2 separate regions of the Homo sapiens genome follow, and region 2 is linked to region 1. Evidence: promoter capture Hi-C in human tissues and cell types (Jung and others, 2019). All regions are on one chromosome and are shown on one strand. Each heading gives the region's core, a stretch centred on a gene start or on the middle of the fragment in contact. The rest is flanking DNA. Distances are from core to core; before and after follow the strand shown. Region 1 holds the start of POLR2D (RNA polymerase II subunit D). Region 2 overlaps SAP130 (Sin3A associated protein 130).

Region 1 (5,915 bases), core at 2,003-4,502:
AACTACTGCCTCACAGCAATGAGTAGAGGAAAAGGCATTATGTATCAGGACTGCAGAACCTCCAAACTCTGAAGTGACAGTAACAAATGACATCAGGCCAAAAAAAAAAAAAAAAAAAAGGGAAGCAGCAGCTAATCAGTTACAAATCTGTTTGTTGGAACTTTGATGCTTTTACAGGTCCTGGAAAAATCAATGTTAAGAGATGCCTCCCAGGCTAAGCGCAGTGGCTCACGCCTGTAATCCCAACACTTTGGGAGGCCAAGGCAGGTGAATCACCTGAGGTCAGGAGTTCGAGACCAGCCTAACATGGTGAAACCCCATCTCTACTAAAAATACAAAAATTAGTCGGGAGTGGTGGCACATGACTGTACTCCCACCTACTCAGGAGGCCGAGGCAGGAGAATTGCTTGAACCCGGGAGGTGGAGGTTGCAGTGAGCCGAGATTGTGCCACTGCACTCCAGCCTAAGGCAACAACAGTGAAACTCCGTCTCAAAAAAAAAAAAAAAAAAAAAAAAGAGAGATGGTCCCTTTCTGCACTAAACCAAATTACTTGTTAAATGGAAAGGAATGGAACTTTTAGGACACCAGGAAACTGGTCAACTGTCCCTATTTCTCATTAAGAACAATACCCAAGTACTACTAATACATTACCCTCACTCCCTTCAACCAAGGAAGGTCGAGGCAGCCAAACTGTAACTCAGAGTGCCTAGGAAAGTGGTGTCTGAGACCTACCACAGAGCTTTTGGGAGGCATTCCCAGGATTCAGCATCAACAAAATGGGGATGGGGGAGGCAGTTCAGACACTTTTGTGTAACTATGGAGAGGAGGGATCCAAGACTTCTCCCCATGGCTAATCCCAAGGAACATTTTCAAGTGAAGGCGCGCACACGCGCGCACATACACACACACACACACACACAATTTATTTAGAAACAAAAGGAAATAGATCAGGGGATCTGCCTGTTATTTTCTCTTGTGCAAATATTTTAAGAACAATGGCCATAATTAATCTCTGTTGCTAAAAAAGGAAAAACAACTCCTTGGCTGTATGTCATCTGGAAATTTTACCGAGGATACGTCATTACGACCATTAATAGGCCAGGTGCAGTGGCTCACACCTATACTTTCTAACACTTTGGGTGGTCGAGGCGGGCAGATTACCTGAGCCCAGGAGTTCAAGACCAGCCTGGGCCACATGGTGAAACCTTGTCTCCACAAAAAAATACAAAAATTAGCCAGGAGTGGTGGCCTGCACTTGTAGTCCCAAGTATTCCAGAGGCTGAAGTGAGGTGAGAGGATAACCTGAGCCTAGGGAAGGTTGAGGCTGCAGTGAGCTGTGATCACACCACTGCACTCCAACCTAGGTAGCAGAATGAGATCCCGTCTCAAAAAAAAAAAAAAAAAAAGGCAGGGTGAGGTGGCTCACACCTGTAATCTCAGCACTGGGAGGCCAAGGTGGGTGGATCACTTGAGGTCAGGAGTTCGAGACCAGCCTGGCCAACATGGTGAAACACCGTCCCTACTAAAAACACAAAAATTAGCTGGGCATGGTGGCAGGCGCCTGTAGTCCCAGCTACTTGGGAGGCTGAGGCAGGATGGCTTGAAACTAGGAGGGGTAGGTTGCAGTGAGCCGAGATCACATCACTGCACTCCAGCCTGGGTGACAGAGTGAAACCCTATCTCAAAATAAAATTAAAAAAAAAATTAAAAAAAATAAATTAACAACTAAAATAGTAAGTTCTAACGTATTAAACCATAAAATACAAAAAACACATAATAAACATTTTTTCATTTTTATATTTTTTATTTCTTAGAGGGTAGTATTTCCGTTTTAATTTTAAATTTATTATTTTGCCAGGCAATGGCTCACATCAGTAATCCCAGCACTCTGGGAGGCCGAGCTGGGTGGATCACCTGAGGTCACGAGTTCGAGAACAGGCTGGCCAACATGGTGAAACCCCAGCTCTACTGAAAATACAAAAATTAGCCGGGTGTGGTGGTGGGCACCTGTAATCCCAGCTACTCGGGAGGCTGAGGCAGGATAATCACTTGAGCCCAGGAGACGGAGGTTGCAGTGAGCCGAGTTCGTACCACTGCACCCCAGCCTGGGCAACAGAGTGAGACTCTGTCTCTAAATAAGTAAATGAATGAATGAATAAAAGAATAAGATAGGTCAGGTGCCGTGATTAACTTAAGCCCAGGAGTTTGAGACCAGCCTGGGCGACATAGTGAGACCCTGTCTTTACGAAAAAAATTTTTTTAATGGGCCAGGTATGGGGGCGTGCATCTGTGGTCTCAGCTACTTGGGAGGCTGAGGTGGGAGGATAGCTTGAGCGGTTGAGAGGTTGAGGTTGCAGTGGGCTCTGATCATGCCACTATACTCCAGCCTCAACAAGAGGGCGAGACCCTATCTCAATCAATAAATCAATAAATCAATAAAGTGTAAGACAGCTGTATACATTTTCAAGTTTTTGAGCTGAAGACCTCATCCCTAGGAATACCCTCCCCAACCACTTAAAGTGCGTGCGTGAGAAAACTCAAGGCTGCCAAAATAATTTGTTCCAGCCAACAGCTGAAGATAGGACTCTGTCTCTCTGCCTCTGTGGGAGGGTAGGGGCCTAACTTCGACAGGTGCGCCAGTCAACAAACCAAGCTGCGTTCACACGGACCAATCCTCCTCTTCCCGCTTTTTTACATTTCTCACTTCCCCGACTCCCCCGAGCTCCCGCTCACCACATCCTTATTCCCTAATTCTCCGTTAAAACGCCCAGAGGTTCTGTACTAATCGAAGTTGAGTTCGGTTCACGCTGGGCTCTTTTCCCTAGTGCAACAGTATATTACTGTTTAAAAATCTGTCCTTACCACCTGAGTGTCCGGCTTTGTTTATCTTTGACACAGGTCCCCGGAACTTCGCAGTTTATCACATAAAATAACCCAGTTGCCCAGGCGGTCCCTCCCAAGGCCATGGTCCCTCCCAAGGCCATGTTCCCTCCCCAGCCCCACGCCGCGCTGGGGCTTGCCCAAGCCGCCGCTGAGGCAGGGCCTTGGGCGAAGCGCGCATAACGCCAGGCCTGCGGCGACCACGCGAAGTGGCGCGGGGGAGTCTGGCAGCCCCGAGCCCAACCTTTAGGAAAGATGAGCTGTGAGGCGTCCTCCTCTACGTCGCCAGCCCGCGGATCGCTGCCACCCGCCGCCATCGCCGCGCCGCGCCGCGCGCCACCACCAGCGCCGCCGGAAGCAGAAGCGCGGAGCAACGGCCGCGGAAGGGGCGTGGTCTCGGGAGGGGCCCCGAGGGGTGGGCGGGGCCGGGAGTGCGAGCCGGACGGGGCGCAGCGAGGGGACCGGTTGGTGAGGTCCTGGAGGCTCCCCGCCACCGAGGGGCGCCCTGCACTCCCTCTCTTCTCCCATGCTCCTCGCCGCGCAGACGTCCTGGGGCAGGTCCCTACGCCTTTCTGGACGGAGGAGGTCAGATGAGATGCAGGAACGCCTGCTGATGGAGAGCAGGGCAGCCGGCTCCGAAAGTACCGGGTCCAATTTCCTTCACCGACTTAAACTTCTAAAATTTTATTGATTTGTGGTGGATTATCTGATACTTCTGAGTACGCGGACAATGATATTCAGAGGCTTTTACCACACGTCTGTTGGAACATTTGGGTGATGCGTAGAAAATTAAGCAAATGACGGCCGGGCGCAGTGGCTCACGCCTGTAATCCCAGCACTTTGGGAGGCCGAGGCGAGGGGATCACCTGAGGTCAGGAGTTTGAAACCAGCCTGGGCAACATAGTGAAACCCTATCTCTACTAAAAATACAAAAATTAGCCGGGCATGGTGGTGGGCGCTTGTGATCCCAGCTACTGGGGAGGCTGAGGCAGGAGAATCGCTTGAACCCGGGAGGCGGAAGTTGCAGGGAGCTGAGATCGCGCCACTGCACACCAGCCTGGACGACAGAGTAAGACTCCGTCTCAAAAAATATATTAAAAAAAAAAAAAAAGCAAATAAAAAATGATGCTGTTTTCGACACTGGAGAAAACAAAAGGTTGTACAATAAGGTAAATAATCATAGCTTATTAGTCAACAATATCTTAGCTCATTAGTCAACAATGTTTAGATGGTCATATTGTAAACTCTGTTGATTTAATAAAAAATGAATTGTGCCGGGCACGGTGGCTCACGCCTGTAATCCCAGCACTTTGGGAGGCCGAGGCTGGAGGATCGCTTTAGCTCCGGAGTTGAAGACCAGCCTAGACAACATAGTGAGACCTCGTCTCTAAAAAATACAAAAATTAGCCGGGCGTTGTGGCGCGTGCCTGTAGTCACAGGGATCGGGGAGGCCGAGGCGGGTGGATCGCTTGAGGGATGCAGTGAACTATGATTGCCTCACTGCACTCCAGCCTGGGCAACAGAGACCCTGCCAAAAAAAAAAAAAAGGCAAAGTCCAGGCGCGGGGGCTCACGCCTGTAATCCCAGTACTTTGGGAGGCCGGTGGGGGTGGGGGGGGCAGATCACCTGAGGTCAGGAGTTCGAAAGCAGCCTGGCCAACATGGTGAAATCACGTCTCTACAGAAAAAAAAAAAAAAAAAAAAAGCCGGGGCGTGGTGGCGGGCGCCTTTAATCCCAGCTACTCGGGAGGCTGAGGCGGAGGTTGCAGTGAGCCGAGATCGCGCCACTGCATTCCAGCCTGGGCGACAGCGACAGAGTGAGACTCTGTCTCAAATAATAATTTTTAAAAAGACTTAAAAAATTAAAAAGTAAAAATTTTAAAACTAAAGAAAAAGAAAACCTTTAGAAGGCAGTCCTGGGAATCCTGTCTGGCCTGTGCAGCCTGATCTCCTGCGAGGGCTCGTCCACAGCGTCTTGCTGTCTTGCAGTGCCGGCAATGTGGTCTCCCACCACCTGAGAAGTTCCCTCCTCCAGGGCATGCTCTTTGCTTCAGCACTGCTTCTCTAAGGAACCTGCCCAGACCTGAAGGGCTGGCCACGCCCCCTTTCACGTGCTCAGAGAAGCTGAAGGTTCCGGAGGGTTTGATGCTTGCCGGTGTTCCCTTGTACACCCAGCACTGAGTGACAGGCCAGATAACCACAGCTGCCCAGCCACTGCACCATGTGCTGGGGTCTGGGCAAAACATTTACTATTTTTACTTTTTACCTATGACTTCTCTAAGGTCAGGTTACTTTGGAGATTCACAGTCCTGTCACAAAGTAGGAAATGCCTTATAAATGGCAGGACCAAGATTTGCGCTTAGGCCTGTGGGACTGCCAGCCAGAAAAGATTCTAGCTGTCACCCGCCCTGGGTTATTTCTTTGGTTGGGAGCCACGATGTGATCACAGAATAGCCATACTGGGGGAGGGGGTCTGATTGGCAGCAGGAACTTGAGGGACTGATGGTGAACTGGAGACCTCTCTTTTCTGTTTTCCAATAGTTTCGAAATTGCAGTCCTCCCCCCACCAATTTTCCAGGGCATACAGAATCTGTGTGAGTAGAAATAATGCATAAGCGGCAGGAAGAGGCCCTTGAATCCTTGTCTGAGCTTGATTTTAATGAGGAAAACAGACACAGAAGGGACAGGACTTGCATTACATTCCTCAGGCTGCTACTCTGATTCTTGTACAGCATTGGTTCAGTCAAGCCATTCAACCAGCCCACTTAGTATTTCAGTCAGATTATTCAAGCCAAGGTTACAGACCTAGATTGATCTAAAAGCAGCTGTAGAGCACCTCCCCCACCCCCACTCCCACAATTAGCACCACTGACCTCTGATCAGATGGTTTATTTCACACTCCAGAAGTCAACAGTGATGGCTAAAATTACAAATGTTGTTTTATCACCAATCACACTCTCCCCCAAAATCAGTCATAGGCAACTCTACGCTGTTTAATTACAGGTACTATGGAATGTAATCTCTAGAACATTAAT
Region 2 (5,915 bases), core at 2,455-4,954, 130 kb after region 1:
CATGTGCCAGCGTAAATGAAGCAGAAAGTTGGATTTAAGTCTGGTTTTGACAAAGCGAAGTGGGATGGGGGTTAAGGAAATGACTGCAAGTGACCACAGACTCTGAATCAGGAAGAGCAGAGAAAGAGGCCATGAGAGGCAGTGAAGAACATGAAAAGGTGGATCAATGGACTGGAGGCTGCTGGGGTCCCTCTGGAGCTGGAGTTCCATTGGGAGGGAGGTGGGAAGAAAGAAGATGGGCTAGGGGCATGGGAGCACAGAGACAAGGTCAGGAAGGCTCACTGAGCTTATGTGCTAAGTGCCCAAACTGGTGGGGAGGGTGGAGGCAGGAGAAGCATTCAAGCACCTGAGGGGCCAGGGAGCTGGAAAATCATTTCTGATCATTAAAGGTGAAGAGAGGGTTCCACTATCACTAAAAAGTGCCAGACATCATGTCCTTCCAAAAGGCATACAGATACACCTGCAAAATCTAACTTGACTCTGCGCCTCTAGATCTGCCCTGCCCAACAAGAAGGCCATATGGTACTACTGAGCAACTGAAATGTGGCAAGCGCAACTCAGGAACAAAATTTTTAATGTTATTTCATTTTAATTAATTTGAATTTTATAATGGATACTCGATCCAGTTACTGAGAAACTTTTTATTGTCTGGAATAACTTGGCTATGTGAAACTACTTTTTCAACTGTACATTTTATGAAATCTAAATACAGATCAAGTGCTTTTGAGGAGAAATGGTCTGAAAATGGCAGTGAGGCATGACAAGGACACCCTGCCTACCTCCAGGCTGAGTGACAGTAGGGATGTGGAAGAGAGGCAGGGACCACTTTAGACAGCTGCAGGGCAAGTTGAGTCCCAGGTTTAAAGCAAGAAGGCGTGGAGAAAGAAGAGACAAGGGCACTGGGGTGGAGGTTGGAGTGTCATGTGATGACAGGCTGTGAATTAGAGGGCACAGTACAAGGGTCTTTGGGAGGAAGTACGGGAGAAGCAGGCACATCTCTTTGTCTCCAGTGCTGCCAAATTTCAAAATACTGGCCTGAGTTTATTGCATCCATTGAATACTGTGCAGGGCATTTCTGTAACCAGGAAACTCATTTCTTTCAGTTTTGGTAATTTTCTATTACTTTGTTGTTTTTTTTTTTTTTTTTTTTTTTAAACATTTATCTATGTATTCAGAATCACACACAAGTTACCTTTACAGTTCAATTTACTATATAGAAATCATTGGGTTTTATATTTGCAGTTAACTTTTGAACTGAGATTACAATATTATAACAAACTCCTTACTTTGTAATCCCTGTTCCTTTTCTCTGATCTCTCTTGTTGAAACCCATTACCTGGAGGCTGGATTTCCTGACCTGGTTCTTTTTATTGTTGTTTTAAATTTTCTCCTATCGTTTTCTCCAATTTTCTTGTCTTTTTGTTCCACGTTTGAGATTTCTTCAATTTTATCTTCCAACTCTTCTACTGATCTTTCAATTTCTGCTATCTTATTTCAGGACCGGTTCTTTTCTCCTCTGAATGTTCTTTTTGCATAGCACTGTGTTACTGTTTTGTGGATGCAACCTTTTCTTTTGTCTTTCTGAAGGCATCACGGATACTGTTTGCTTATCCTTGCTCATTTGTTTTGTGTTTTATTCTCCCTGCCAGGCCTCTACATCTTCCAAGGTGCTTTGGGCATGTATTTATTGTGGTTTCTGTCTTCCACCGTTAGAGGTCCCCTCAGATATGTGCCTATCTTTGGTTGTATGTTCATGATTAAGAGTCGGGGAGAGGGACTGAAATGCTGGCTGGGAGCTCTGAGCTTTGGAAGGGCATGTCTACTATGAGGTCCACTGTAGGGTAATCTAACCCTGTCCTTAAGGAAGCCCTAGTGTCAGTATCTTTAGAGCTTCCCCTTGGGCTGGATAGACTCCCCAGAAGGAAAGTAGAGTCCTCTTCTCATTTTCTATCTAGAATCAAGTTCACCTGCCAGAGTTCTATCAGCTGAAAGCAGGGAGTGGACTGGGAAGTGTTCAGCACTCCACACACACACGGTGAGTCACAATCTCTTTCTGGTAAAATACTCATGACCTCTATAGTGCTGGGTGACCCTAGCGGACCATCTGCAGAGTTTGAACTTTCAGGCTCCTGCTAAAGTCGGGAAGGGGCAGTACACCACATGGCATAGGTAGAAAATGGGATTCTGGGCTCTAACTTTAACACTTTTCAAACTCAAAGGTTTTAACTTATCCTCCTTAAAGGACAGAGCCCCTTCCTTCGCCCCCAGGATTTGCCTGTTGTTGGTCCTTTTGAAGATTTTCCAATTTTAAAAGAGGATGGTTCTCAACTTTCCCCTACGCAAGCTTCACATTTAGCTTTCTCAGAGCCAGGACGCCATCGCGTGATGGTCTGCTTCCCAGCTTCAGTTGCTACTGTGTCCTCTCCTGTTCTCCCCATCCTTGTGTGTTTACAACTTTTTTGAAAAAAAGTTATATAGGGTTATGAGACAGAAAGATTTTAGATGTGTGTAATCAATCTGTCATCTTAACCACAAGCTTTGCCTTGTGTTTTTACTAATAAGGTAACTTTGTCATGGACTGACTTATCCTTTAAAAAAGTACAAAGTATTCATAAACAGCAAAGATAGGGACTCTGGTATATGCACAGCTCTGTGCAAATAAAAACCCTGCATGGACCCTAGTCCCAGCAATTTAAGTTTGCACTTGCTTTAATCTTTTGATGTTGATGCTATTAGCTCAGCTGAGCCACAGAAACTCTGCTCTCTGAAACATGTCTGCTCATCTCCCACCTCCAGAATGTTTAACTCAAACAGCACAGCACATACCTTCCTGCCTATGATCCACCAACTGAGAAGCTTACATGGCAACACAAAACACTATCTGCTACCAAATATGACCCTTACTACACTTCAGAATTTGTTTGCCCACAGTGACATAGAAGGGGAGTAGGGAAGTGCTGGGAAGGGGCGGGTCCCTGGTGAGGGCTCCACCCCCAGCCTGTGCCCACGGATCTAGGTGAGGACAGGCATTTTTGTTTTCCTGCCCAAATGTTGCATTTCCCCCAGACCACCCTGGCCTGCTACGCCCTGATCCTGTGCCTGTAAAAACCTCCGAGACCCTAGCAGACAGGCACACAAGTGGCTGGACGTCAAGAGGAACGCATTGGCAAAAGACACAAGCAGCTGGACGGCGAGAGGACAGCAAGGGGAGCATGCCGGTGGAAGAGCACATGACAGACGCTGGCATGCCAGCAGGCCCCCGACCAGCAGAACGACGCAGTTTGGCCAGGGCAGTCAAGAGAGCTGGGGCCGCTCCATCTCCCTTCTGGCTTCCCCCATCTGCTGAGAGCTACTTCTACTCAGTAAAACCCTACACTCATTCTCCAAGCCCACGTGTGATCCCATTCTTCCAGTACACCAAGGCAAGAACCCTGGGATACAGAAAGCTCTCTGTCCTTGCCATAAGGCAGGGGTCTAATTGAGCTGGTTAATGCAAGCCATCTATGGATGGCTAAACTAAAAGAGCACTCTGTAACACATGCCCACTGGGGTTTCAGCTGTAAACATTCACCTCTAGACACTGCTGTAGGGTTGGAGCGACACAGCCTGCCTGTCTGTATGCTCCCCTAGAGGTTTGAGTAGCAGGGCAATGAAGAAGCGAGCCACTCCCACTGTTGCACGCCCTGCGAGGGGGACAAGGGAACTTTTCCCGTTTCAACAGCAACGATTCATGCTGAATGAAGTTTATAGTATGAGTTAAGGTAACTACCTACACAAGCCCAAGAGTTACTTATAAACTACTTTAAAAGTTCTATGATTGAAGTTCCAGAACTAGAGAGAATTAAAGCAGTATGCAACAGATGCTTACAAACTAACACCTCACTGACTCCAGGATTTGTTAAGATCTTACAGTCTCAGCTGGGTAAGGCTCTACTGAATAATCCTGTGGTCAAGTTGTTTTGGAGGAAATTTTAACACACCACAGAAAATGAGAGATGAGTTTGATACCAGCATTAGATAAGAGTGCCTATTATGTATACCAGTTATATCCAGAACCAGAGGTGTCATTCGGCACTACCAGGTCTACTCACCCATCTGTGGCAGGTTTCTTCCGGAGTATGCTTGGCCGTGGCGATGAGCCCTGGGCGGGAGCGTTGGTGCTAGCACTCTGGCTGTGGGTCTGCACCACGGTTGTTGCTGCTGGAGCAGCACTGAATGGATTGCTAATAGGGTTGGCCACAATTGTGGCTCCATCTGCCAACACCACTGCTACAGGAGAGAGGCAACAGGAAAGAACATTGAAGAGAGGGAAACAAAATGCCATAGAAGACATAAATAAAAATGATGAGACCACTAGAATTAGGTATCCATGTTCTAACTGTCCAATTTCAAACTGATAAGGGACAGGAGCACAATGTTCATCCGACAAAGAGCAGATAGCTAAATGGGAGCAGTTACTAAGTCTACTGATGCATGATCCATACCATTATTTTTTCTTTTTCTTTGTTTGAAAGAGAGTCTTGCTCTCTTGCCCAGGCTGGAATACAGTGGTGCAATCTCAGCTCACTGCAACCTCCACCTCCCAGGTTCAAGTGATTCTCCTGCCTTAACCACAAGAGTAGCTGGGATTACAGGCGTGCACCACCACACCTGGATAATTTTTGTATTTTTTAGTAGAGACGGGGTTTCACCGTGTTGGCCAGGCTAGTCTCGAATTCCTGACCTTAAGTGATCCACCTGCCTTGGCCTCCCAAAGTGCTGGGATTACAGGCGTGAGCCACCACACTTGGCCCATACCATTATTTTTTCTTTGCTCTATAATCACAGTTACTAATAAATGAGATAAGGTGAACAAAGTACATAGTATCTAGTATAGTCTCTCACTCTACTAGTTACTTTACATTTTTTACTGATATAATTCTTACCATCATTGTAATTTCCATTTTAGAGATAAGAAAACTGACAGACAAGAAAGGCTTAATACAAGAGCCACAAATAGAAAACACTATCTACCAGCCTGATAGCATGCTCCAATGTACACTTCAAGAAATGTACTCATTCAGTTTTTGTAAAATACCAATCTCTCTCAACCCTCAATAATGGTACCCTCCCCAGTCTATCTTTAGAAACACATTCAACTAACAGATATTTTAACTATACACTTAAAGTTAGCATCAAAATACTGGTGAGCATGAGATCATAATCAGAAAATACCTGTGTTTGACAGTTTTTGACCTATAAAAATGGCAATTTCATAGGAGTCAACTTAATATCATGAGTTTTCTGGCAGGTGCCCTTAAATATGTAGTACACCATCCTACCGGGTGGGTCATCATGGGTAAATTGCATCTCTATCATAGACATTTAGTTTAGTAATAAAAAATCAGAGAGACTTTGATTAAATAGTTGAATTCAAGGTCTACAGAACAATTAAAATTCATAGCTCCAGCCAGGCACAGTGGCTGATGCCTGCAATCGCAGCACTTTGGGAGGACAAGGCTGAAGGATAGCTTGAACTCTGGAGTTCGAGACCAGCCTGGGCAACAAGCAATATCCTGTTTCTACAAAAAATCAAAAATAATTACCCAGGTGTGGTGGCATGCACTTGTAGTCCTTGCTACACGGGTGTCTGAGGCATAAGGACTGCTTGAGCCCAGAAGGTCAAGGCTACAGTGAGCCATGATTGTACCACTGTGTTCCAGCTGGGCAACAGAGTGAGTGAGACCTTGTCTTTTTAAAAAAAAAAAAAAAAAAAAAATCAGTGCCTTGGCTGAGAAACAGCCATTTTGTTTTTTTAAACTACATTAGAGAAATGGCTAATCAATAATAATCCAAGTACATGGAATCTTAAATTCAGCCAAAAAAAAAATAACCTAGCTGGTGTAATGACTCATGCTTGTAATCCCAGCACTTTG

Evidence for each region. The method cuts DNA at HindIII sites, captures the fragments that hold promoters and counts their contacts. A contact is called where the count stands out against the background at its distance.
Region 2: a contact is called between a fragment that was not itself captured here and the fragment with the promoter of POLR2D in region 1, in 1 of the 25 tissues and cell types used here (pancreas).

The regions. Positions count from the first base shown.
Region 1 is chr2:127,854,903-127,860,817 of GRCh38, forward strand. It overlaps POLR2D (RNA polymerase II subunit D), which reads right to left and starts at 3,253. Exons shown (of 4, transcript NM_004805.4): 1 at 3,126-3,253. The coding sequence starts at 3,198. It also overlaps the pseudogene LOC107985803. RefSeq lists an enhancer at 2,688-2,857 and a silencer at 3,088-3,397. The HindIII fragment of the contact is 23,647 bases long and covers 1-5,915 here.
Region 2 is chr2:127,982,694-127,988,608 of GRCh38, forward strand. It overlaps SAP130 (Sin3A associated protein 130), which reads right to left. Exons shown (of 21, transcript NM_001330301.2): 14 at 4,092-4,269. Among named protein-coding and RNA genes, the nearest start is that of SAP130, 42 kb to the right of the region's middle. RefSeq lists an enhancer at 3,272-3,772. The HindIII fragment of the contact is 5,804 bases long and covers 803-5,915 here.